7 separate regions of the Homo sapiens genome follow, and all the other regions are linked to region 7. The links are contacts of gene promoters, found by promoter capture Hi-C in blood cells and fetal thymus (Javierre and others, 2016). All regions are on one chromosome and are shown on one strand. The core of a region is centred on a gene start or on the middle of the fragment in contact, and the rest is flanking DNA. Distances in the headings are between cores, read along the strand shown.

Region 1 (3,668 bases), core at 708-3,207, 300 kb after region 7:
AATTGATTTCCTAGGTATCTAGAATCTACCTAATTGAGCCCTTTATTTATTAAATCATTTTATTCTAAGTGGACATGGCTCTTCTAACTTTTAGAAAGCAATTTTTGGAGAAGTTGTAAAAGAGAAGCCAGTTTGTCAGACAAAATTATCTGGTTTTATACATTTCAGATACTGATGGAACTATTAATGGTAACATTGTCTACAGAGTGGTTAAAAGTCATAATGTCATACTAAATATGACTTACAATAAAGAATACTGGGGAATGGTCTTTTTAGATAAAAATGCTATTGTTATACAGGCAGTCTTCATTTTGCATGGTACCATGTTACTGAAACTTGTGCATATGAGAACCATATCCTTGCTTAAATGCAAAACTAGATAGAACTGCCTGTATACAGTACTTGATTTTTCTATCAAACCAAACATTTAGAAAAAGCTTACTTTGGTGAATCTCTCTCATTATCTGTATATAAGCATTAAAAGAATTTCCTTAGAAGAAATCAATTTTATGTCTATTGTTCATTCTGAAATGTAGATAAATCAATATCTTTATATCTTCATAGTCTTTAGACTATGAATGTGAATTACATATTGAAGTTTTTCCTCAGATAATTCAAATATAAATTAAATCTGTCAAAAACTACAAAGCAAATAAACATCCAAAAATCCTTTAGGTTTCTTCTGTTACATGATATTGCTAAGTTTTACCAAAGTGAGTATATATATATACATATATATACACACACACACACACATATTCATCTATAATACAAATACAAAAATTCCAAAACACTGTTAATTAAATAAAAAATTAAAACAATAACCAAGTATGTTTTTTAACAATTTATGGAAATTAAACTCATATAATAGCAAAATGGTGCAAATGAACTACATCCTGGCCAGATATCAATTCTCAGTCGTTAACTTTTGCCTAATAACCAAGACCTCAACAAGGTTTAATTATGAAATGTATTACACCTTTGCTATTTGAATGACCCATTAAATCCTCTATCATATCTCTCAACTGTCCTTCATTTATTCTCAAATCAATCTCACTCTGCACAATTGGATATTCTATTGTGAATAATGATGAAATCTGAACCATGAAATTAAAGTTGCAGAAAAATCAGTACACAAACCTTGGGTCTTTGACTCATGTATAGATTAGAGAGAGTGATAAACAGATGATTTTTTTAAAAAGTGCATTATTCTCCTTTGTCTGATAAGTGAGTTGACTATAATGTCAATGAAAACTCTGGATTAAGCAATACTTAAGCCCACTTCAAAATATTTTGTATAAAATATACCAATTAATAACAATGAATAAATGAGAAGTTGATGTGAATATTAAGAACATGCTGAGCAGTTATTTTATTAAGCTAATCAACACACAATTTTATCACAGTATTTCAAACTTTGGAAGCCAACAGAACTTCATAAACCCTCTAAATAAATACATATACAATTTTTAAATAAAATTGCCAGAGATATACCAGGTTATTCTGAATTTGCAAAGCAAATTAAGAAATTCAGCTGTGATTACTGGTAATCAATTTTTGGGACATTAAATATGTGAGGACAAACACAACTGCATAAGAATTTTAAAGGGCATATTATAGATGGCATTCATAATAGCACCTGGAAAAATTAATAATCAAAGTTAGACAGGTATACTTAAAAATCTTACAGAAATATATGACAGCTCTATCTACCACATAATAACTACTAGGTAGTGTGGAAATATTTTCTTAATATTCTTTATAGACGCTTTATTTTAGAAAGAGGATAGTCATATTTAATTGAGAGAATGTAAAGTTAAACTCCTCTACAACATCTGGATATCCTCTTGCACATTTTATATATTTGAGTGGCCATAATGAAATTTGCTATATTAAATAAATGGATGTTAAATTTTATAATATCTAATTAAGTAAATGATCATCTAATTTATTACCCAAATATATACTATATTCTAAATATATGGCTCTTTCTACAGGGCCTCATACCACGCATCCTCAATATGTTTAAATAAATTGAATACAGGTACTGAAAACAGTGTAGTGTAGTGTAGTATAGTGTAGTGAAGCAGGTAAGTGCTAGGGCTCTTGGCACCAGACTGTCTGGGTTAAAATTCTAGCTCTTACGTTACTTTTCGACCTTCAGCAAGTTACTTAACCTCTATATACCTCATTTGACCCATCTATAAACTAAGATTGATAATATGGTGCTTACATTATAGGGCTGTTGTAAAGATTAAATTAGTTTATGAAAGGCACTTAGAAACGTGCATGCCTTGGTACACAGAAAGCACTCTTGAAGTGTTAGCTGTTATCATCACTGTCAACATCATCGTGATCTAAAAAATATCCTGTGAAAAGTGCCTCCAGGTACAAAGGCAGAATTCCATTTATAAATCTGTTTGTTTTATTTGTTTATTATTATTACTTTGGTAGGCCACCATTTTGATGATTACTTTGTTTTAGATTTTAATACCTCGCTGAGATACACTAGAGATTGTTCTCAAACAACAAAGAATTTTTATTTTTTGAAATAAAAAGTAATAGAAAATTTAAATTCATACAGAAGCATAAGTAAATGTTAAGATCTAAGAGCCAAATGTAAAGTATAGCTTTTACTGGGATGCTGATTCAAACGAATCATCTTCAAAAACACACTGGTATTTCTAAGATCAGTAGCTCTCAAATTTTAAGAGCCTACAGATCACCTAGGGGTCTTGTTAAAATGTAGATTCTCATCAGCAGTTTTGGGGTGGAGCCTGAGATGCTTCATTCTAACAAGCTGCCAGGTGATGCCCATGTGGTTGGTCCATGGCGTGTACTTGAGTAACAAGGGGTTAGACAATACCAGAGAATGTTTTATTTATTTATTTATTTTTTATTTTTGAGGCAGGGACTTGCGCTGTCACCTAGGCTGGAGTGCAGTAGTGTAATCTCGGTTCACTGCAACCTCTGCCTCGTGGGCTCAAGTGATCCTCCCACCTCAGCCTCCCGAGTAGTGAGACCACAGGTGCGTGCCACCACACCTGGCTAATTTTTGTATTTTTAGTGGAGATAGGGTTTTACCATGTTGCCCAGGCTGATCTCGAACTCCTGAGCTCAAGCAATCCACCTGCCTCAGCCTCCCAAAGTGTTGGGATTACAGGCCTGAGTGACTGCACCTGGCCAATTATTGTTAATTACACTGTATATGATAAAGGCATTTATATAAGCAAATGTTACAAAAGAAAATGTCAAAACTTTTCAGAGATGCTCAAAAATTTATGCAGGGTGAGATGACAAGATGTCTGGAATTAATTTCAGCAAGTGACCAAAAAAATAGATGAAGCAATTGTGAAAACTGGTGAATCCAGGTCTATTTTTGTGTATGTTTAAAAATTTTACAATAAAATATTTTAAAAGTACATTTCTTCTAAGAACCTAGAAAAATTTCTAATTATTTTGAAGAAAATAATTATTTGAAGCTTTTTCCTAGTCCTATATAGACTGATTTTCTTTTTTACAGGCAAAGAAAGTATTAACTTCAGGAAGCCCTTCAAAATAACACAGCTAATTTGTTTTTCCCAAACTTCATTTTCTATGTTAAGGTTTTAAAATTTTACTATTAGAAGTTTTACATGTTTATTTTTCTTCCTTCCAACCTGCTGCTT
Region 2 (3,921 bases), core at 487-2,986, 370 kb before region 7:
CTGTCCCAGAATTAATGATTCTGCTCTAATATGTATTAAGGTCTTACTGATGCTTTGCCCATGAGTCCCTCTGAACTACTTTGAATTTTTTTAAGAGATGGTGAGTGGCCAGACATGGTGGCTCACACCCATAATCCCAGCACTTTGGGAGGCTAAGGCAGGAGGATCACTTGAGGAGAGGAGTCTGAAACCAGCCTGGGCAACATAGCAAGACTCTATCTCTACAAAAAAAAATTTTTTTTAATTAGCCAGGCATGATGGCACGTACCTGTAGTCTTAGTTACTCAGGAGGCTAAGGTGGGAGAATCACTTGAGCCCAGGAGTTTGAGGCTGCAGTGAGCTATTAACGCACCACTGCACTCCAATATGGACAATATAGTGAGACCCTGTCTCTAAAAAATAAAAATAAAAATAAAATAAAAGACGGTGAGCTTTTAAAAGCATAAATCTAATCATTTCCTTTTTAAAACCCTTCATTGACTCGCATTTTTCTAACACACGTTCCAGCCACCCTGGCTTCCCTTCCCATCTAGAAAGTCACCATACTCTTTCCTGCCCTAGGAACTCACCACCCACTCTTTGCTCTACAAAGATTCCCACAGAACTCTCAAAGCACCCTACCTGTACACATCATCATTTCCTTAGAGTCTAGCTAAGATCCATCAAGACAGAGACCATGTCCATCCTGGTTATTGCCATATCCTGCGTACTGAGCCAGTGCCTGGAATCACAGTAGATGCTGAGAAAATTGACTGGTAAACAGTGGTAGCATCTCAGCTGCACAGCGAGCTCTCACTTTGACTTACTGAGACCCTCCCAGGCAGTTTGTCATTCCTTAAAAATGTTTTATCATTTCTAATAGAAGTATCTTAACATTTCTTGCTTTTCTCTGAACATCATTTCACATTTACCTAACTCATCTGGTCTAATGGGCAACTAATGTGAAATACCTGTTTGAACTCTCTTAGCTGCTGCATCTGAGTCTGAAGACTTCCAAGATCAAGTCTTCAGGTGAATGTGTCCTGGAAATGCTGGATCCTTTTGTGTCTCTCCTCATAGACTGCCTGGGCTCCATGGATGTGAAGGTAAGCATCGGTTTGCACTCTGCATTGGAGCATTTATTTCTTCAGAAGAACTATGTTTTGCAGAATACCTAATGGTTGTATTTGGGCTCAAGCTTTATGAGATGATTGAGGTGTTTTTGTTTGGTTGGTGGGTTTTTTGGGGTTTTTGGGTTTTTTTTTTTTTGAGACAGAGTCTCACTTTGTCACCTAGGCTGGAGTGCAGTGGTGCAATCTTGACTCATTGCAACCTCCACCTCCTAGGTTCAAAGGATTCTCTTGCCTCAGTCTTGCCTCAGCCTCCCAAGTAGCAGGGACTACAGACGCACACCACCACGCCCGGCTAACTTTTGTATTTTTAGTAGACACGGGGTTTCATCTTGTTGGCCAGACTGGTCTCGAACCCCTGACCTCAGATGATCCACCCTCCTTGGCCTCCTAAAATGCTGGGATTACGGGCATGAGCCACCGTGCCCGGCCGAGATTATTGAGTTTTTAAAGAGATTTATGACATCGTGAACCACCACTATTTGCTACATTAAATCACTTCTCAATTTACTAATTCTATAAATTTGGATAGCCTTTAACAGTTCTAAAAGCCCTCCTAGGTACCTTAAGTATGTCACTGGATCCTCACAACTTCATGAGGGTGAATGATTTTGTCCCCTTACCAATCATCATCATCATCACCTTTGTCACTATTACTGCTCCATGCTATGAATCCCAAGAACATTATTTCTGATCCTCACAACCACCCCTGAGGCATATATTCTTACTATTTATGTTTTATAAATGAGAAAATTAGGGCGAGGGCCTAGGTACAGATCTAGGCTATGAACCTAGGTGCCGAGAGGTTAAGTAACATCTCTAGAGTCAAACAGGTAATCAGTTGCAGAGCTGGGATGTAAGCCAAGGTCTTTCCGACTCCCAAGCTCGCTCTTCTGTGTCTTAATCCAGCCCACTGAAGAGTTCTCAGCAGCCAGAGCAGCACGGGTGTTATTAGATGGAGCTGAACTAGCTGATCCCGGTGCTTTCAAAGGTTTGGCCTTAGAGGTTCAGGGATCTCAGCACACTTTTTCCATGTCTTTTGCCATAGCACTTAACTATATTAAATGATAGTCAATTGTTCCCGTGCCTGATTTCTGAGTTAACTGTCTGCTGCATAAATGCAGAGATGGTATCCTTTTTATCTTTGTATTTATAATACCCAGTAGAGTGCCTTGTATACCTAATTCAAGCTTAGTAAGAGTAGATTACATTAAAGTACCATTCTAGAAAACAGAAAAGTCATTTAAGATGTATTTTTCCAAAAAAATTGTAAAATTGACCAACCTATCCAAATCATATAACCTCCATAAACCCCTATAAGTAGGTTAAAAATATGGCTGGGCATGGTGGCTCAGGCCTATGACCCCAGCACTTGGGAGGCTGAGGCAGGAGGATTGCTTGAGCCCAGGAGTTCAAGACCAGCCCAAAAATGTTTAAACAAAGATTAAATTGTAAAAAGAATATGGTGCCTTTTCTTATTTCCTCATGATCTACCATCATAAGGATCCATTGTTACGGATAAGCAATAAATTCTTCTACAACCAGGAATTGTAAATGTCTTTATCTTCTTACATTTTGGGCACAGTTCTTCCAGAGTGGGCTGCGCTTAGCATCTTATTTATTCAGCACAATCATTTAAAGAGTCTGCATAGCCTCAGGTGCTGCATAGTTGGATTCGGTCACATCACAAGTTGGTGGTGTTTTGTTTTGTTTTTTTCAGGTGATCACAGGTGCTTTACAGTGCCTCATCTGGGTCTTGAGGTTCCCGCTACCTTCCATAGAAACAAAAGCAGAGCAGCTGACAAAACACCTCTTCCTTCTGCTGAAGGACTATGCAAAGCTCGGGGCCGCCAGGGGCCAGAACTTCCACCTTGTGGTCAATTGTTTCAAGGTGAGATGTCTTCACTTGCCCTTGGAAAAAGCCAGGATGGAGCTGGATGCAATAGCTCGTACCTATAATCCCAGCACTTTGGGAGGCTGAGGTGGGAGGATTACTTGAGCCTAAGAGTTCAAGACCAGCTGGGTCAGCATAACGAGACCCCGTGTCTACATAAAAAAAAAAAAAAAAAATTAGCTGGGCATGGTGATGTGTACCTGTAGTCCCAGCTACTTGGGATGCTGAGGCAGGAGGATCACTTGACAGGAGTTAGAGGCTGCAGTGAGCTATGATCACATCACTGCACTCCAGCCTTGGTGACAGAGCGAGACCCTGACTCATAAAAAGCTAGAACCAGGATTAACATCAAAGTTAGTTTTCCCCATTGCCCTTTGTGGTTATGGCCAAAATTTTTTCCAGAGTAATTTGCCAAGGCTAGAGGGCTGGCACCCTGTTTGGAAAAGCATACTTGTGTGTTGTGTTAAGTCCTTGTCATTTCACTGGATCCCAACTGTGGGATGTGCTGGCTGTTAACATCACTATTGTAACTTGCAGTGTGTGACCATACTTGTCAAGAAAGTCAAGTCTTACCAGATAACTGAAAAACAGCTCCAAGTTCTACTGGCCTATGCTGAGGAGGACATTTATGATACTTCAAGACAAGCCACTGCCTTTGGTCTTCTGAAGGTATGCTGTCGCCAGAATGTTGACTGTTACGGTTTATGAGTTTCACAGCAGATATTTTGAACACATAGATCATAGTGTTTTGACTAGTCATAGACTTCTGAAATTGAGTAATTTGTAAAGATTATTATGATTTTGGTGGGTCAATTACAGGTGAACATTTGCTTATGAAAAATGTTTAAATGTGAGCTCTGTATTAACATTTCCGGGGAATTCTGTACAAATACAGGTATTCTGTTTTTATTTATATGT
Region 3 (3,800 bases), core at 638-3,137, 270 kb after region 7:
TTGTAATTGTGCTTCCCATCCCTGCCGCCTCAGACTTTCCTGGAAGTCCCAGTTCCCAGATGGGGTAGGGGGAAGGAACTAGCACACTTCCATGGGGGAGCACAGTAAGGATTCCACTAAGCTGAATCTACTGCTGCCAATCGGTCCCTTGGGACTGCTCATGTCTGTGGGACAAAAATAGGAAGTAATATGTTAACATGAGGAGCTAGGGTTGTGATTACAAAATGAAACAGGAAGAATGTGTCTAGAACGCAGGTGGTTCACTGGGGCATGTCGTGGTGCTTCAGTGCCTGGTAAGAAACAGCAAACAGATGACTGTGATAATCATAGCCTAAACAGGGCAAAGCAATCAAAGCCCTAGAAAACTTAAAGGATGAAGGTCTGGGTCACTATGCTTGACAACCAGCCTAGACCAGCGGAATTTCTGATATAGAGCAGGAGAAATGTAAAATGGGTGGTGGAAGAAGATGATAAGTACCAGTTTTGGCCTTGCGTTCAGTCATAGTGACAGTAATTGTGGCTTGTCTCACTAATCTTCATGTGTAGATTTTAGAAAGACTGTGGCTGGCCATCACCTTGTGTTATCCCACAGACAAAAGACAAAGTAGACTTAACATGGGACTCAATCAGTTCTGAATTGACTGCATTTGGGTAGACTGCAGCAAATATCTCTTTTGCACATTCCCTCGTCCACTTCCGGTATCAGTCACAGCTACATGGATAGTTCTAGGTGAGTAAGCTTGGACTTGTCCTTTCTGCTTGTGAAATCCCACTGCAAGCCGAAGCCATGTATCTTTCTGCTTCCTGTTCCAAGTCTTTCTTCAACACTGGGGTGCTGCTTTTCCACACAGAAGCACAGCCCAGAAGTGCAGGGATAATTAATGCCCCTGGAGGCAACTCAACTAACGGGGGATGGAAATTGCTTAATTAATGTTCCCAGTTTTATTAGGTGGAAAATTTTGGGAGGCATTCTGAAAGCTTCTCAGAGGGTCTTGGAGCACTCAAACCCCAACTGGCAATCTTGATAACATACTTCTTAAATTTTTTATTATTTTTGAGAGAGTCTCACTCTATCACCCAGGCTGGAGTGCAGTGGTTCCATCTGGGCTCACTGCAATCTCCACCTCCTGGGTTCAAGTGAGTCTCCTGCCTCAGCCTCCCAGTAGCTGGGAGTACAGGTGCATGCCACCACGCCCGGCTAAATTTTGTATTTTTAGTAGACACAGGGTTTCACCATGTTGGCCAGGCTGGTCTCAAACTCCTGACCTCAAGTGATCCACCTACCTCAGCATCCCGAAGTGCTGGGATTACAGGTATGAGCTACCTCACCTGGCCGATAATAAACTTTTAAGTGGTTTTCTCCCTTTTCCTCTCCCTGTTTTTTTACTTCTGTTTTCTGGGATCACCTTGTGAATGACCTGTATACACCCAAGTCCTTTTCTCAGGCTCTACTTGCAGGTGAACTAAACTAAAATGGGCACAATTAGTTAAATGCATTTATATATTTTTCACATAAGTACTTTAGGAATTTTCTAGACTGTGTGTAAATAACTATGAATAATAATTATTTATTTGCAAGGTGAGGTGAGAACATTTTAATCCTGCACACATTTTTTTTTGTTTAGGTAATACAGGAGTTGATGGCAACGATGGTTACTCATTATGAACCACACTGAAACGACCTTCAATTCAATTTCCATCTGCTAATAAATATAGTCAAGTGCTGCATAATGTTTTGGTCAACATCCCCTAAGATTATAAAACCATATTTGACTGCACCTTTTCTACATTTAGATACACAAATACCACTGTGTTACAACTGCCTACAGTATTCAGTACAGTGACATGCTGTGCAGGTTTGTAGCCTAGAAGCAATAGGTTTGTGTAAGTACACTTGTTATGAAATCCACAATGTTTGTACAATAAAACCGCCTAATGACGCATTTCTCAGAACATATCCCTGTTGTTAATCAATGCATGACTGCATAAGAATATCTGACTTAAAAAACACATGAACTAATGGCCAAGTGGTGAAAGGCTGCATATGCTAAAAAATACTACCAAAAAGTTCCATACCCATAACATATGTGATATGTAAGTTTTAAGTTGTCAAAGAAATTTCAACCCAGTATTACTTTCTACCAGAAATGTCTTTAACAACTCATGATATGAATCCATATACTTTTCATGCTAAAATATTCACAAAAATTGAATAATTCACTTAGCCAAATTCACTGTTTTTTTTTTTTTTTTGCATTGGGTCTACTATTGATCACTAAACTCACACTGACTTCATTTAAAATTGCTCATTGCATCTCTTTTTATTTTTAAGACAGAGTTTCACTCTTGTCGCCATGGCTGGAGTGCAATGACGCAATCTCAGCTCACTGAAACCTTTACCTTCTGGGTTCAAGTGATTCTCCTGCCTCAGCTTCCCGAGTAGCTGGGATTACAGGCACCTGCCACTACGCCCAGCTAATTTTTGTCACCACGCCCAGCTACTTTTTGTATTTTTAGTAGAGATGGAGGTTTCACCATGTTGGCCAGGCTGGTCTTGAACTCCTGACCTCAGGTTATCCACTCGCCTCGGCCTCCCAAAGTGCTGGGATTACAGGCGTGAGCCACCGTGCCTGACTGTAATTGCTCATTGCATCTCTAAAATATTCTATCTTAGTATTTGTAGCACTAATTGTACTTTATTTAGGTTATCCTATTTTTCATTTTGAGGCCCTTTATTTTAGCAACAAGACATACTGGCAGGTTAAAACTGCTTTATTATTATTTTTTTAACATAGAAGAAGCTTGGTAGTGGACATGTGGCCATTTGATGTTTTTATGACTAAGAGAGTTCAGGCTCAATCTCTTACAGAATGTAAATGTACCCCTATGCATGCATATGTAATTCTTATCAAAATTAAGCTTAATCACTAAAAGAAGATTCGCTATCTGAACTTTCTTCTACAGTTTTCTCACTTTCGCCATCAGGCACTGGAGCATCTGGCCTCCTAAAAGAAAAGAAAAAAAAATTTCAAAGGTCTTTTCCAATTGAAAAGAGCACTTACAAACTCTTAAATTTGGTTCATCTTAGAATATTGCTGCTAATAAATCTGCCAAGTCCGTGTCCTCAGTCTCCTGCTCTACACCACAGCGTGCTTCTCTCGGGCTTCTTGGGCACCATGGGGATTCAATGCTATGCCTGTAGAGGCCGCGACAGTATTTTCTCTTGCCAGTCCTTACATAGTGCGCTACTTCAGCACTTTCTGCTTCTCATTACCATGGAGACCCAATTATAGACAGAGATGTGATCTGTAGAGGCTGGCATGACCAGTGCTAAGTCCCTGAAGCTTCCAAGTGTACATGAGGTACAGAGAAAGGAAAGCTAGAAATGAAAAGAAAAGGAAATGCTTCATGTTCAGGAAAGCTGCAGGGAGAAACTTAGAAATGGAAGAGAGTTCAAAAATGGCTAATAAAAAAATAGGTAATGTGGAAATTTTGTAGCGAAGGAGAGTGCCTGGTCGAAGAAGGTTCTTAATGTTTGTTAAACGTTTTCACTTACATGTTTTATCTTTACAGAATGAAAATAGAAAGTATGAGTTGGCAAAAATACTGTTTCAAAGATCCCCTAGGCATTATAAGGAGACATGAGAATGGTTAGATTCCAACTTTGCATGGATGTGCTCTAATAAACCAAAATGAAATTTTAATGATGTTATTAAAACAGTCAACTAGTTAAGCCTCAATAGTTTTGTGCCAGTAAGTCATTTAATCAGTGTAGTGGCATTATCACTTAGCCTCTATTC
Region 4 (3,896 bases), core at 392-2,891, 420 kb before region 7:
CTCTGATGCTGAAAGATGAAAGTTTGCCAGACAGCTAGAACCAAGAAAGTCTTGTCCACTAACAGAAATAGTGTATGAAGCACAGGGGCAGGAAAGATTATGGCCAGCCTTCATGTCACTATACAATACTCTCCCCTTATCCATGGTTTCACTTCCCACGATTTCAGTTACCCATGGTCAACCACAGTCTGAAAATATTCAGATATATTTCTTCTTCCTTGTTGGTGAGCAACAGCCATTGGTTGCCTTAACCTGGACCTCTGTTGCCTGACATCTGTATTTACATTATAATAAAGTGAGGGAGAATATATTCTACTACTTTCCTGTCTGCCACATAGAACCTAGACAAGGAATAATTCCAAAAATCATCTGAGTTTAATTTTGGAATATTTTACTAGTTTGGTTACTTTCTAATTTTTGTTCAATTTAAACCATTCTGAGCACACACTGAATGATTTTTTGGTGTGGAGAACCTGAATTTTAGGGACAGGCCTGCCCAAAATATGGGATTTCTGGAGAATAATTTCCTAAATGTAAATAACTAAGCCTTGTTTATATAATAGTGAAACTATAGGCGGGGTGTTTGAAGTTCTAGTCAGAATAAAATTGTAGATGTCAGTTTAAGAAAATGATCTCAATTCTTTAATTCTGTAACACTCTCTGTTTTGTTTTTGTTTAGGCAATTAATTGCTCATTTGCAAGTTTTCTCTAAATTTTCAAATCCACGGGCCTTATATCTGGAATCCAAACTATATGAGTTATATCTTCAGGTCAGTAAAATAAACTCTTGGCATTATAATTCTTTGTGAACTTTTCTCTATCATTTTCTTTGTCAGAGTAGCTTAGATTTTCAATAATTGCTGAATAGGGCCCATGTCTACATTTTAAGTATTAAAGCCTTTTTTTTTTTAATTAATAGACATATTTTCTGTTATCTTGAGAAACAGTTTTAGCACTAACTTAGCTGATTTTGAAGGCATTTTGGGTGACTAAACATTGATTGGCTGTGTCAACAGTGAGAATAGCAAAGCATGAATTATATCATGGAAATTAGCTTTTAGAAGGGAGTAGGGTTTATACAAAAAAACAAGTGACTACTTTTCCCTTCTAGTTTAGTCAGACTTCATAGAGGACTGGGATTTCAGGATCTATTGTAGTCCATTGCAGTCATAATTACGTGGCCCTGAATTTCAGATAAGCTTGCAGAAAAAAATTAATATCAGAAATGAAGTAAGCATTGGATGTAATTCTAAGCCATCTGGGGAAACAAAATTTTCATTTTTCATTTGGATGTTTCTTCTGGCATCTTATTGACTATCATTACCTTCATAGGATAAGAGATTTTCCTTAGTACATGACCAGCCTAGTTGGCTTAAATCCAGATTCACATAGAGAATCGGCCTCACCAGGCTGCACACAGTAGCTCACGCCTGTAATCCTAGCACTTTGGGAGGCCAAGGCGGACAGATCACCTGAGCTCAGGAGTTCGAGACCAGCCTGGGTAACATGGTGAAACTGCGTCTCTACCAAAAACAAAAAAATTAGCCAAGTGTGGTGGTGGGTGCCTGTGGTTCCAGCTTCTCGGGAGGCTGAGGCAGGAGAATCGTTTGAACCCAGGAGGCAGAGGTTGCAGTGAGTCGAGATCGTATCACTGCACTCCAGCCTGGAAAACAGAGCAAGACTCTGTTTGAAAAAAAAAAGAGAAAGAGAGAGAGGATTGGCCTCACCCAAAAGCTGGTAGACCCCAGGGTATGACTGTGGGATGCAGGTGTCAGAGAGTTTTGTTTCCATTTTTACTTTGCATATATTCTGTTCATCTTTTTTTACTTCCAGGAAAATGTGAAGCTGTTGTTAGCAATCAGGTTTAGGTCTTGTGTAAAAATTTAGAATTTTTCAAATCTCATTTAGCAAATAACCACAAGTAAATTGCTATCCTATGGTATATGTATATATGACTTCATTAATTCTGTAAAATACTGTTCTTAGTTGTTGCTACACCAAGATCAAATGGTGCAAAAAATAACCTTGGATTGCATAATGACATATAAACATCCTCATGTCCTCCCTTACAGGTAAGTTACTTGAAGCTTAAAGAACTGTTATTTCTTCAGCTGATTTTTATATTTCTGCCTAAGAGCCTCTTCTAGAATAATTTATTAAAGGCCTAGAAAGTTTCCCTTTTTTCTGAGGTCATCGTATTTCCAAGCAAGAAATGAAAACGAGTAGTATATTTGTTGGGTTGTTCTCCATGATACTAAAATAGAGAATGTTAATTTTAAAACTGTGTTGTAAATATTATGTCATTTTCCTCTTCTTATTAATATAATGCCATAGAATCTTGGTGGTTACTTAGAGAATCAAAGTCACTCTAAGAACTGAGGAAAGCTTTTTGTATCATGCTTTTTTAAACAGCTGAGTTATGGACAGAATCTAATCTTTTCTAATCCGTTATACCTTTTGAAATGTACAAATCTGTCATTTTAGGAGATTTTTTTGAGGATTTTCCTTTATGGATATCAACCATAATATGTACTATATACCTTATTTTAGTTATTACTCTGTGTACATATTTCACTCTTTCATTATTCAAAAGCACTGTTGATAAAGTGGTGATTTGTGCTGTTCTCTGTTTTTAAAGGGAAAACTTACAAAGGTTGCTTGAAGACAGAAGCTTTAAGGAAGAGATAGTGCATTTTAGCATTTCAGAAGATAATGCTGTAGTGAAAACAGCCCACCGAGCAGATCTATTTCCTATTCTGATGAGGTATTTATGCTGTTCAAACACTGATTTTTAAAAAGTTAATAACAAACACAATTGTGAGTACAGTATTATGGTTCTTTCAACAACTGTAATAGAATATTTCATTTTCTATTTTCTTTTGATTGCATTTTCTTTGGAGATGGGGTCTTGCTCTGTCACCCAGGCTGGAGTGCAGTGGCATGATCACAGCTCATTGCAGCCTAGACCTCCCAGGCTCAAGTGATGCTCCCACCTTGGCCTCCCAACGTGCTAAGATTACAAATGTGAGCCATCACCGCCAGCTGCTTTTTTTTTGAATTGTACCTTTGGGAGAAGCCAAATTGGTATAGAGACTAAATTTTGTTCCTAACATAAAGAAAGATCTTTATTTATTTTTTTTTTAGAGGGAGTCTCGCTCTGTCACCCAGGCTGGAGTGCAGTGGTGTGATCTCAGCTCACTGCAACCTCCGCCCTCCCAGGTTCAAGCTATTCTTGTGCCTCAGCCTCCTGAGTAGCTGGGATCACAAGCGTGCGCCACCATGCCTGGCTAATTTTTGTATTTTTAGTAGAGAAAGAGTTTCACCATGTTGGCCAGGCTGGTCTTGAACTCCTGACCTCAGGCGATCCACCCGCCTCTGCCTCCCAAAGTGCTGGGATTACAGGCGTGAGCCACTGCGCCTGGGCCCTAATATAAAGAAGATCTTACCATAGTATTATTGTGACAATAATATAATTAAATTTAATATTTTCCTAAATTTTACTGTTGAGATACAGTAGAAATATTTCACTCTGTTTTCCAAATATCATGTGATATTTAATGATGTTATTATTCCTTTAATTATAAATGGTAGAGCAAAAAGATGATCCATAAATAATACAAAGTTTATATATGCTGGGTATAAAGAAAAATGAAGCTTAAATCTTTCATCTCACCAGCTCTGGAATGATGAGAATTGGAAAGATCATGGGATTGGGATTTAACAGGTTTGCTTTTGGTCCAGCCCCCTACTGTGTAGTTCTATCAGATAGAGAAAGTCTTTTAGATCCACTGGGCTTCTGTTTCCTTAATAGGAGCTGGTTCAGATATGCTCAGGGACTCTGCTAGCACTTATCTAATGGCTCTGTTTAGTTCCATTTGTAGCCAGCATTAAGATTC
Region 5 (4,046 bases), core at 1,266-3,765, 340 kb before region 7:
CAGTTTTCCTGGACTGCCGGGAGGCAGCTGTACAAGCTTTATAAGCCTCAGGCTGTAAGTGAACTTGCTTTCTGCATTTTCCAGCCATGTGCCATTGACCAGGAGTGAACTCAAGTATAAATTGCAAAGGGCTACTTGTCAAGATGACAAATATCTATCCTACTGTTTCAACTATGAACATATTCTGAAATGCCATATGCCAGGCGCCATACCAGATACTAGGGACATAAATATGAAAAAGTCTTTGCCCCTCAGGAGTAATATTGGTTGTACTGGAACATTTGTAGCTGAAGGAAAATCTCCAAAAAAGATTTCAAAGAGACTAAAGTAGGAATGGGTGCTGGAGAATGAGCAAGAAGGGTGAGAGTCCCACGGGTGAAGGGAGAAAGCAGCAGAGAATGAATATAAGCCCGGAGAATGAACATAAATGTGAGGGGAAGAGGCCAGAGGCCAACACTGGAAGGACAGTGAGGGCCAAGAAAGGAACTACTAATGTTTCTGAGACCTGCAGGGAACCATGGTATTAAGCTCTCATTACCAGCACCTAATTTTTTAGAGGCTGGTTTTCCAACTTAAGTGAAAGAAATTCACCCTGTTTTTAGCAATTATGACGCACTATATTTACTTCTGTCACATTAGCTGATTCTGTGGTGGACTGGGTAATTTGAAAAGCTCCTTTGAACATGAATTGTTTTTAAACTTACAGTCTAGCAATAAGCCTAATTTTTAAAACAGAATGCTTAATTTCTCCCTGTACAATCAGTAAGATTTTGATTTTTAACAAGTTTACATGTCCAATTACATGTAGATAAAAGGAATGAAAACCAGTAAAGACACCTTTTATAATCTGAAAATAGATTTTTAAACCTTCCTTTAATGTGAAATTTTCTCTTTAATGTGTTATGAATTCTATCAAATATAACCATTTAGGATTATTTATAGTATGTCACTGATCACTTCTACTAGTATAGACAAATAAATTTATAAACATTATTTTGAATGTAACTAATTAGCATAATTTTATTTAAGAGTTAGACTGTGTTGTCAATACTGACATTTTTGGGAATATATAGTATAGTTTATGAGTCAAGCTTCTGAACCAAAAGTTTTACTTTGAGCCCTATTCCTACCTTACAAGCTAGCAGGTGACCTTGGGCAAGCCAACCTATTAGAACCCTGGGTTCACGTCCATACAGTGAAGACATCATAACCTGTCCTACCTACTTCACAAGCTTCCTCTACCGATCAACTAGATCAATATATGTAAGATTTTTTTTGACAACTGTAAAGTACTATAAAATGACACTTACAGATAAGTCAGTGAAGTTAACCATCAAAACAATATTCATGCCTATAACCAAAAGCTTTTAAACAAAACAGCTTAATAAAAAGTGGTCAGGTAAGCAAATAAAGATTATATTACACAAACTATGTTCCTCACCTACTCTCATACTGAGTCTAATCTTTGGAAAGATAATTCATTTTAAGGGGAAAAAAATCTGTTAAGATATTTTTTAGTATTTATACAAACAAGCTGCAACTACTATTCAAAAATAGGTTTTTTTCATCCAATAGGAGTATACTCTTTAATAGAACTGTATTTGAATAAGAATTCCATACAAATAGAATATATACCTTAACACAAGAAAGCAAGAAAAGAATATTTTACATTACATAGAACATTCAGGTGATTCGATCAAATTATCCCTCCAACTAAATACTTATTTTCCCTATTTACTACAAATATTGCAGTCAGTCAGTATATGCCAATAATCATATAGTTTTAACATCTAGTAGTGTGAAGTACACTTGACTGTTTCCAAAGGGAGAGAGGTGATGTAGTCTTCATTTCAGGGGAGAAGAATGGACTGAATTACTGTCTGCTTTTTAATGTTTCAACTAACCTGTAAAGAGAAAATGAACTGTTTTATAAAATTAATTTTCAGGTATAAAGCATGATCATCTATAATAAACTTTGTATTGGAGGTGGATTCCAAAGTACTTAAAATGATGACAGCTAACACAGATGAGGTTATGCACTAGATATCCATAAGGTTCCTCTAAGCTTTGAATTTGTCTATGATTTGAATGAAAAATTCAAAAAAGACCAAATACCTATTTTCCAGGCTACTACTACTTCTGGGCTACATATGGATGACTCAGAGGTGAAACTAGTCTCAATCCTCAAGGAGGTGATTATCTAATGAGTAGATGAACAAATCAAACTTACAAGACAGCAAAACAAGTACTATGTCACTAATCTGTGACAAGGGCATCTAACTTTAAGTGAGTGATTAGGCAGTAGGAATAGAGATACATTAGGAAAAGCTCTTCAGAAGAGAGTCTTAAGCTAATTCCTGAAGGATAAGGAATTGGAGGGTGAGGTGAGGCAGGGAAAAGGCTAAAAATTGGCAAAGAATTTGCTTATCTAAGTAACTGTAATCAGGTAGGTGTGGTTGAGAAGACAGATGCACCTGAAGACCAGTGAGAGAAAACGCTTGAGGAACTTATGAAATAAGCTGCTAAGTAAATCAAAGTTTCATCCTCAACACGGGAGAAAAATTACACGTGGACGTGCATAGCTGCAAGCACACACAAATGCACAGATGGCTTCTGGAAGCATGATACTTGCCATTCCATTGCCTCATCAAGGCCGGTGCCTTTGGTTGCTGACGTTTTGAATATCTGCCATTTTCGGTCCTTCAAGGCAGGTAACCCAAGTGAATTTGCCATCTCTGAGGAAGTCATGGCCTGTTCCATGTCCTGTTTATTTGCAAACACCACTAAAATGGCTTTTCTCAGCTCTTCTTCCTAAATGAAATTGAAAATATTTAATTTCTTTTAACTAATGTGCTCTCTCGAGTTTAGAAAATGTCCAAAAATACATTTTAAACGTGTATTTTATAATTAATATATTACACATTATGAAATTATATAGAAATTATATAGAGAAGTATAAAGAAAAGAAGCTTCACTCATAATCCTACCTCCCAAATATGATCACTGTTAACATTTTAGGTGTTTTCTACTAGTACTTTGTTTTGCAGATACTTCAGAGTTTATTTAGTAAATACATTTACACATTTAAGATCACATTTATATATAGTTCCATACCCTGCCTAAAAATTAAAATCATGTTTCTCCAAACTACAACAACTTTTTCAAAATAAAAAAATGGCTAAATATGCTCTACACTATGGATGCATGCACCATAAACTGTGTTAACTATTTTCTAGTATCTGACTCTTATTAGAGTCTTTCCACTAGACTATTAGATAAACCCAAGTGACAGGGTCTTTATACAAAAATTTCTGTTTAAATCTGTTTCCTTAACACAATATTCTAAAAATGGAGTCAAAGTATGAACAGTTTTTTTCAGGCTTTGATAAACTGAATACATGCATGAACAGCTTTCCAGAAAGGTTACCCTACCAACAGTGTATAAAAGTCTCCATCTTCAATGCAGCCTTTGTAGAGTTGGGAATTATTTACTTTTCCAAACATAGCATCTCATTATATATTACTAGGGTATTCGAAATGCACATGGGCTGAGGCAGGAGGATCGCTTAAGTCCAGGAGTTGGAGACCAGCCTGAGCAACACAGGGGTCTCTACAAAAATTTTTTTAAAAAACAAACAAAAAAGGAAGCAGAGAGAGGAGCTCAAGGTTATAACAAGCTTTGGTTGTGCCACTGCACTCCAGCCTAGGGGACAGAGGGAGACCCTGTCTCTTTTTTTTTTTTCTTTTTTTAAGACAGTGTCTCGCTCTGTTGCTCAGGCTGAAGTTGCAGTCGTGCAATCTTGGCTCACTGCAGCCTCTGCATCCTGGGTTCAAGTGATTCTCCTGCCTCAGCCTCCTGAGTAGCTGGGACTACAGGTGCCCGCTGCCACGCCCAGCTAATTTTTGTATTTTTAGTAGAGATGAGGTTTCACCATGTTGGTCACTCAGACTGGTCTCGAACTCCTGACCTCATGATCCACCCGCCTCGGCCTCCCAAAGTGCTGGGATTACAGGCATAAGCCACCGCGCCCTGCTGACCCTGTCTC
Region 6 (3,890 bases), core at 224-2,723, 310 kb before region 7:
TGGGAAAGCCATCCAGCCACTCTGTGGTTCAGATTCCTCTGCAAAATGAAGGATTGGTCAAGAGTGAAACTCCTCAGACTTTAATGTCTACATACAAAGCACCTGGCCGGGCGAGGTGGCTCAAGCCTGTAATCCCAGCACTTTGGGAGGCTGAGGCAGGTAGATCACGAGGTCAGGAGAACGAGACCATCCTGGCTAACAGAGTGAAACCCCGTCTCTACTAAAAATACAAAAATTAGCTGGGCGTGGTGGCGGGCGCCTGTAGTCCCAACTACTCGGGAGGCTGAGGCAGGAGAATGGCGTGAACCTGGAGGTGGAGCTTGCAGTGAGCCGAGATGGTGCCACTGCACTCCAGCCTGGGTGACAGAGCGAGACTGCATCTCTAAAAAAACAAAACAAAAAAACAAACAAAAAAAGCACCAAAGACCTTGAACATGCACAATCAGACTGTGATTCTGCATTTCTACAAGCTCCCAGGGGATGCTAATGCATGAATATTTGTACCTTTTTCTACCTTTCAAAGATCATGTTGAAATTTAATCCCCAGTGTGGCAGTATTGAGAAGTGGGGCCTTTAAGAGGTGACTGGGCCATGAGGGCTCTGCTTTCATGACGAATTAATCCATTTCTGGATTCACGGATTCATGAATTAATGGATTATTATGAGAGTAGGACTGGTGGCTTTCTAAGAAAAGGGAGACACCTGAGCTAGCATACTCAGTCCCCTTACCATGAGACATCCTGCACAGCCTTGGGAGTCTGCAGAGAGTCCTCACCAGCAAGAAGGCTCTCACCAGATATGGTCCCTTGACCTTGGACTTCTCGGCCTCCATAACTATAAGGAATAAATTCCTTTTCTTATAAATTACCCACTTTCAGTTATTCTGTTTTAAGCAACAGAAAACAGACTAAGACAACTATTGAAGTAATTACGAAGTTCTATGTTCTCTGGTCTATTTATTGTCTTTTTCATGACTGATGCTATAAAGTTCTGTATATTGCTTCTCTTTCCTGAGATGCTTTCTCTATTCATTTCCCTCCATATAAATCCAACTCACCTTTTCAAGCTCTTTCTCCTGGGCAAAGCCTTCCATTACTACTCTAGTTCCCCAATTCCCCCCATCTTTATTATATTATAGTATCCATTGCTGGCACTTGGAATGTTACACTAATCACCTACAACTATTAATTGTTGCTTATCATTATGTACACAAGTAACCAGTTATATATATTTTTTTCTTTCCTAGGAGGCTTACCACAGTGGCTCAGGTATAGTAAGTTGCAAGTTTTGTTGAATAAATGAATGAATGAATGAATAATTTACTATAGCATTGGTGCTCCAGAGAGATATCAAATGTTTCAGTATTTTATAAAATTGTTTTCCAGAACATAGAGGAAACTGCCAATTTGGAATTTCCCCAGCCTATTCAAATGAGGCAGTCCAAGCTAAGCAATAATTTGATCCATTCAAAAGTTAACGATATTAAAAATAAATGTTGATATTAAATTTCAAATTTCTCTTTAGCTTCTGAAACACTGGCATTTGCTACTGCTGTTTTTGTCTCACTTTTCAAAGCCAAATACACACAATATATTATGCATGAGAAATTAGCATCATATTGCATAAAAGATTTGTCCATAGAGTATGATTTGTTATTATATCATGATTTCAACAGCTTGGTCAAACAATCTGCTTTATACTAAATATCATGCTGCATACCAAATAATGAAGTGGACTTTCTGCCTGTTGAAAGACAAAGAATCTTTATTATTGATATAGAGAAGTTGTTTTAATCTTAAAGTTAAAATAAGGAAGTTCTTTGAATATTGCTTAACTCACAACTGTGGGAAAAAACGTAGAAGCATTTCAGAACCTACCATCCTACTTTGCATTTCTATTGAACAGCTGCGTTTTAACCACCTTGCAATATTTGTTGTATAAAATACACTTTAACCCTAATATAAATTTATAATTTTTGACAAGAGTAAGTAACTATATTACATATTACCAAATTTTTGATCAGATAAATATTTTGGTTGTAAGTCATTATAATTGAAATTTACTGTAAAATCTCTTGGTAAACTTGTAAAGTATTAGCTCCACAAATGTAAAGCATTATAATCATTACTATGCAAAACATATAATATTTCTGAAAATGCTGGAAAATATAAGCTAAATGAGTACACCTAATAAAGTAATGTATCACTTGAATAGGAGCTATAAAGTATAATGAATCTTATTCTTAACAGATTTTAGTCATTTAAGTTTGTTTTCTTTAAAGAATTTCTATTCTTAATTTAGTTTACATACCTCTGATGGAAACTTCTCTTCACAAAGTAAAGTGAAGATTCTCAGAAGACAGACATTAATATTCACTTTTAACTATCTTTTCATTTATGTAGTTCTCTAGCTTCTGATAAAATATTTATGGAAGGAGGTCATCTTTAGTTCTGGTTTTGCAAAGCTCTCTGTCATCTGTAATCTCAGTTCTTCAGAATAGAGCAACACAGAATACAGAATTCATAGAGACCAGAAGGGCTGACTCAGGCCTGGCATTTTTATAGAATGCTTAGAGCCAGAAGAACCTCGGAGATCATCTGTTCCAGTCTCCTTGTTTTACAACTGGGGATGCTGTGGCCTTGAGGTCACCCTGCTCATTAACTTGAACTCTTCTCTTCTTCAGTCCGTAGTTCTTTCCATCTTGTGAATTGAGACATGGGAAAACTAAGAATACTAAGAGCATCAGAAAACACAGGTAGGTGAAGGAGGTAACAAAGTCTCTTCCAGACGGCCGTGAAGCCCTGCCATTTGCAGCTTGCATCTCCACACCTGGGTCAACTCTCAATGGCTGCCATCCTTGAGAGGCTTAAACCTCAACCAGTGACTGGCAATTACTAGACTGTTGATTAGACAAATGGAATATCTCTAAATGGGTTTTATTATCTGTATCTGTCACAAGATAGCCACACTTTTCAAAAAGGAAAACAAATGTTTACTTTATCCCACAGATTCTTATCGTGTGTGCACTGAATGTTCATTACATGTACTTCCTTCTAACATTTATCAAGCGCTTACTGTGGGCCAGTCAGTATGCTGTTTGCTTCAACCGCATTGCATAGTCCCCCCGTGTCTGCAGGGGATACGTTCCATGACTCCAGTGGGTGCCTGGAACTGCAGATAGTATCCTGAACCCTATATATACTGTTTTATCCTATATCTACAAACCTATGATAAAGTTAAACTTATAAATTAGGCACAGAAATAAATTAACAACAATAACTAATAATAAAATAAAACAGCAATTATAACAATACACTGTAATAAAAGTTATGTGAATGTAATCTCTCTGTCTCAAAATGTCTTACTGTACTGTATTCACCTATTTTCCTCAACCAGGGTTGACCGTGGGTAACTGAAATCAAGGAAAGCAAAACCACAGATAAGGGGCAACTATTGTACTTCATTAAATCTTTATAGCTGGCCGGGCGCGGTGGCTTAAACCTGTAATCCCAGCACTTTGGGTGGCCAAGGCGGGCGGATCACGAGGTCAGGAGATCGAGACCATCTTGGCTAACACGGTGAAACCCCGTCTCTATTAAAAATACAAAAAAATAAGCCAGGCGTGCTGGTGGGCGCCTGTAGTCCCACCTACTTGGGAGGCTGAGGCAGGAGAATAGCGTGAACCCGAGAGGAGGAGCTTGCAGTGAGCCGAGATCGCGCCACTGCACTCCAGCCCGGGTGACGGAGCGAGACTCCATCTCAAAAAAAAAAAAAAAAAAAAAAAAAAATCTTTATAGCTGAGTGCGGTGGCTCACACCTGTAATCCCAGCATTTTGGGACGCTGAGGCAGGCGGATAACCTGAAGTCAGGAGTTCGAGACCAGCCTGGCC
Region 7 (3,567 bases), core at 964-3,463:
TCCTGCAGAAGACCTTTTCTTCCTACGTTTCTCAATGACTGCAGTCTTCCCTGTATTGACAATTAAAAAAAAAAAAAAAAAGCTTTTGAAACTGAATAGGTTATTTTGGTAAATTTTAATGAAACATCTTCATTTGGGGATTTTTAGGCTTTTTGCCAACATACAGTTTCAAAGCAGACATAAAAATGCAATATTCTCTGCAGGTTAGGTGAAATTAAATCAGGATTCAGGACCATTTTATAGGAATAATTTTTCAAGTCTCCCTGGGTTAATGTCACAGTAAGCCACATACTATATATCAGATATTTTGGAAATAACTGCAAAAGCAAGAGTTGCCGAATAAGCTTCTGTAACTCCGATACTGCAATATAAGGATCAAATGAGAAACACAAGTACAGCTGGCCATCCGTGTCAGCAGGTTCTGTAACCACAAATACCGGGGGAGGGAAGACCATACCTGAAAATGCTTTACAAACTAAGTTGTACGATAGTCTCAATGGGTTCAAAACAAATGAACTGAAGGACATCACTGCCCAACATGAGATGTACTGCACCTTCAATAACATCTTCCTCTGATCCACTCAGATCTTTCTTATCTTCAGTCTCAAAGTCATAGGCTCTCGTAAACTGATCTTCCACAGACGGCTTCCCAGATTTCCTGGAATACTTTTTTCCGGAGGACACCATATTTAGATGCTTCCTGACTTTAAAAAACAAATTTCTTTAACCTTCTGAATGCAAAGACATCATTTTAATACACTGGTAAAAGTTTAAATATCAAAGGAGATATCGAACAAGGATTGTTGAATACAATTTTAACAGTTTCCTCATTTATTTGGGGGGCCAAAAGTTAAGAAGATAATGACATTTGTTAAAAAATAATAAAATAAATAGGCCAAGCACGGTAGCTCACGCCTGAAATCCCAGCACTTTGGAAGGTTGAGGCAGGCAGATCACCTGAGGTCAGGAGTTCAAGACCAGCCTGGCCAACATGATGAAACCCCGTCTCTACTGAAAAAAAAAAACAAAATTAACCGGGCGTGGTGGCACGTGCCTGTAGTCCCAGCTGCTCAGGAGGCTGAGGCAGGAGAATCGCTTGAACCCGGGAGACAGAGGTCACAGTGAGCCAAGATCGCAGCCACTGCACTCCAGCCTGGGTGACAAGAGTGAAACTTCGTCTCAAAAAAAAAAAACAACAACAGAAATGGCCGGGCGCTGTGGCTCATGCCTGTAATCCCATCACTTTGGGAGGCCGAGGTGGGTGGATCACCTGAGGTCAGGAGTTTGAGACCAGCCTGGCCAACATGGTGAAACCCCGTCTCTACTAAAAATACAAAATTAGCCGGGCGCGGTGGCGGGTGCCTATGATCTCAGTTACTCAGGAGGCTGAGGCAGAAGAATCGCTTCAACCCGGGAGGCGGAGGTTGCAGTGAGCTGAGATGGCCCCACTGCACTCCAGCCTGGGCGACAGAGTGAGACTTCGTCTCAATCAATCAATCGATGAGAGAGAATGACAGTGTCCACCCCGACTCCAAGCGCGCAGTGCTGGAGAGGTGGCCCCTGAGGCCTGGGAGTTCCAAATTTTGGGGCCGCCTCTGCCAGATTCTGGCTAAATCTGGGCAACTCTAGCAGGGCGCTCAGTCACGCGGGGAAATTATAGTTGCTGGCGGGACACGACATGAGGATGCCAGAAATAAGCTCATAATAATCAAGACAAATAATAAAAACGTCCCGCAATTTAGGTCTCGGAAAATGAACACAGGCAGAAGATTTCGACAACAAATACATCGAGGAACCACGAAAGGCGCCCTCGGCGTGGAGCGGGCAGGAGGGAGACGCGCGGAGCGAGGTAGGGCCCTGCCCGGCCCCGCCGCGTCCCTCCTGTAAGTGGTCCCAGGGTGTAGCGATGGGGCCCAGCCCCAGCCCAGCCCGCCCGCTTTCCACTAGGCCCTATCCTGCTCAAGGCCCTGTCCTCAGGTTCGCGGCCTCCGTTTTCTCGTCAGAGGCCCCAGGCGACGCCAGGAGGTAAGATTTACCTCACTGGTCAAGGGCAGCCTCTGGCCTGGACACCTGCGATAGACAGACGCCTCCCCTGCTCACACCTGAAACACACCGCAATGGCCGAGGACCAGTTACTGGTCGTCGACAGGCGTCCTCCACAACTCCTCCACAAGCGCGCTTCACCTGAGGTGGCCCCTTCTCCGCGACGCTTCTGAGGCAAGCTGGGATTCGCACAGGAGAAAAGCCAGTCCCGCCTCATCCGGACACGTCGCTGATTGGCTGGACGCAGAGCGCAGGCGTGAACTGGGTGGCGAGGCTCCGCCCCCATGGGGCGATTGCGCGCCCAAATAGCTGGCCCAGGGTGCTTTGGCCGCCGGAGCGGGTTGCGAGTACACTTGAGGCCTGGTGCCTTCCAGTTTTTAAGTTTTAAATGTTTATAATCGAAAATTGCAGCTAGGCGCAGTGGCTCACACCTGTAATCCCAGCACTTTGGGAGGCCGAGGCAGACGGATCACTTGAGGTCAGGAGTTCCAGACCAGCCTGTCCAACATGGCGAAACCCATCTCTACTAAAAATACAAAAATTAGCCGGACGTGGTGGCGGGCGCCTGTAATCCCAGCTACTTGGGAAGCTGAGGCAGGAGAATCGCTTGAACCCGGGAGGCAGAGGTTGCAGTGAGCAAGACCATGCCATTGTACTCCAGCCTGGGCAACAGAGTGAGACTCCATGTCAAGAAAAAAAAAAAGAAAATTGCGGAATAATATGTAAATTATGAAACATGATGAACATACCACCTAATTTATGAAGTAGGGCTTTACCAACATTCACTGAATCTCCTCAGGCAGGCCTTTCCATCCGATCCTCACCAGGACCCCACCCTTCCCCATTCAGGGATATAAGAAAATTATCCTAAATTTATGTAAATCATTCACCCTTCCTTATTTTCTAAGTTTTATTACCACATGAAAATGTGTCGTTAAACAACACGGCTTAGTTTCGTTCGCGTTTGGCATTACAAAAAATTGTCCCATAGTCTATGTAGTGTTCTGACAGTCCACTAGAATGGCAAAACTACAAAATATGACTACACGGAGTGATGATGAATCTATGTAACAAAGGGAACCCATTCAGTGGGTGGGAGTATAATTGTAAAACAATTATTTGGTGTAACTGGAAATCACCTATCAATTGCAAAACAATTTTTGAAGATACAATTTATGAAGGAAATGAAACTCACCTATAATCCCACTACCCAGAAATAATATACAGTTTAAAATTGGGGGTATTATTGCCTTTCATCCTTTTTTCTGTGCTTATATGTATTTTCCCCCAAATAATTTTAAAATATATTTCAACCTTTGTACCTGCCTTAGTTTGCTCACAGCTCTGCAATCCTTTTTCTATTTGAAATCATACATTTTACTTTTTTTTTTTTTTTTTTTTTGAGACAGGGTTTTGCTCTCTTGCCAAGGCTGAAGTGCAGTGGCATGGCATGATCACGGCTCACTGCAGCCTTGATTTCCTGGGCCCAAATGATCCCCCTGTCTCTGCCTCCTGCGTAGCTGG

The links. The method cuts DNA at HindIII sites, captures the fragments that hold promoters and counts their contacts. A CHiCAGO score of 5 or more calls a contact.
Region 1: a contact is called between a fragment that was not itself captured here and the fragment with the promoter of SYCP3 in region 7, in 1 of 17 cell types (neutrophils). The highest score is 10.5, in neutrophils.
Region 2: a contact is called between a fragment that was not itself captured here and the fragment with the promoter of SYCP3 in region 7, in 3 of 17 cell types (total CD8 T cells, M1 macrophages and M0 macrophages). The highest score is 7.4, in total CD8 T cells.
Region 3: a fragment that was not itself captured here is called in contact with the fragment with the promoter of SYCP3 in region 7 in 1 of 17 cell types (neutrophils); the score reaches 5.0 in neutrophils.
Region 4: a contact is called between a fragment that was not itself captured here and the fragment with the promoter of SYCP3 in region 7, in 1 of 17 cell types (monocytes). The highest score is 5.6, in monocytes.
Region 5: a fragment that was not itself captured here is called in contact with the fragment with the promoter of SYCP3 in region 7 in 14 of 17 cell types (M1 macrophages, M0 macrophages, erythroblasts and 11 more); the score reaches 15.1 in M1 macrophages.
Region 6: a fragment that was not itself captured here is called in contact with the fragment with the promoter of SYCP3 in region 7 in 11 of 17 cell types (M1 macrophages, M0 macrophages, M2 macrophages and 8 more); the score reaches 19.6 in M1 macrophages.

The regions. Positions count from the first base shown.
Region 1 is chr12:102,040,384-102,044,051 of GRCh38, forward strand. The region is part of intron 4 of WASHC3 (WASH complex subunit 3); the gene reads right to left. Among named protein-coding and RNA genes, the nearest start is that of WASHC3, 20 kb to the right of the region's middle. The HindIII fragment of the contact is 3,045 bases long and covers 436-3,480 here.
Region 2 is chr12:101,366,892-101,370,812 of GRCh38, forward strand. UTP20 (UTP20 small subunit processome component) reads left to right here. Exons shown (of 62, transcript NM_014503.3): 48 at 969-1,085; 49 at 2,830-3,000; 50 at 3,541-3,672. Among named protein-coding and RNA genes, the nearest start is that of ARL1, 39 kb to the right of the region's middle. The HindIII fragment of the contact is 1,122 bases long and covers 1,176-2,297 here.
Region 3 is chr12:102,010,188-102,013,987 of GRCh38, forward strand. It overlaps WASHC3 (WASH complex subunit 3), which reads right to left. Exons shown (of 7, transcript NM_016053.4): 7 at 2,653-3,005. The coding sequence ends at 2,921. Among named protein-coding and RNA genes, the nearest start is that of DRAM1-AS1, 48 kb to the left of the region's middle. The HindIII fragment of the contact is 1,823 bases long and covers 977-2,799 here.
Region 4 is chr12:101,318,866-101,322,761 of GRCh38, forward strand. UTP20 (UTP20 small subunit processome component) reads left to right here. Exons shown (of 62, transcript NM_014503.3): 23 at 680-770; 24 at 1,987-2,072; 25 at 2,639-2,764. Among named protein-coding and RNA genes, the nearest start is that of UTP20, 41 kb to the left of the region's middle. The HindIII fragment of the contact is 888 bases long and covers 1,198-2,085 here.
Region 5 is chr12:101,393,767-101,397,812 of GRCh38, forward strand. It overlaps ARL1 (ARF like GTPase 1), which reads right to left. Exons shown (of 6, transcript NM_001177.6): 5 at 2,633-2,811; 6 at 1-1,904. The coding sequence ends at 1,874. Among named protein-coding and RNA genes, the nearest start is that of ARL1, 12 kb to the right of the region's middle. The HindIII fragment of the contact is 904 bases long and covers 2,064-2,967 here.
Region 6 is chr12:101,428,823-101,432,712 of GRCh38, forward strand. No RefSeq gene overlaps it. Among named protein-coding and RNA genes, the nearest start is that of ARL1, 23 kb to the left of the region's middle. The HindIII fragment of the contact is 5,381 bases long and covers 1-3,890 here.
Region 7 is chr12:101,737,249-101,740,815 of GRCh38, forward strand. SYCP3 (synaptonemal complex protein 3) reads right to left here and starts at 2,214. Exons shown (of 9, transcript NM_001177949.2): 1 at 2,103-2,214; 2 at 555-704; 3 at 1-50. The coding sequence starts at 687. The HindIII fragment of the contact is 5,223 bases long and covers 343-3,567 here.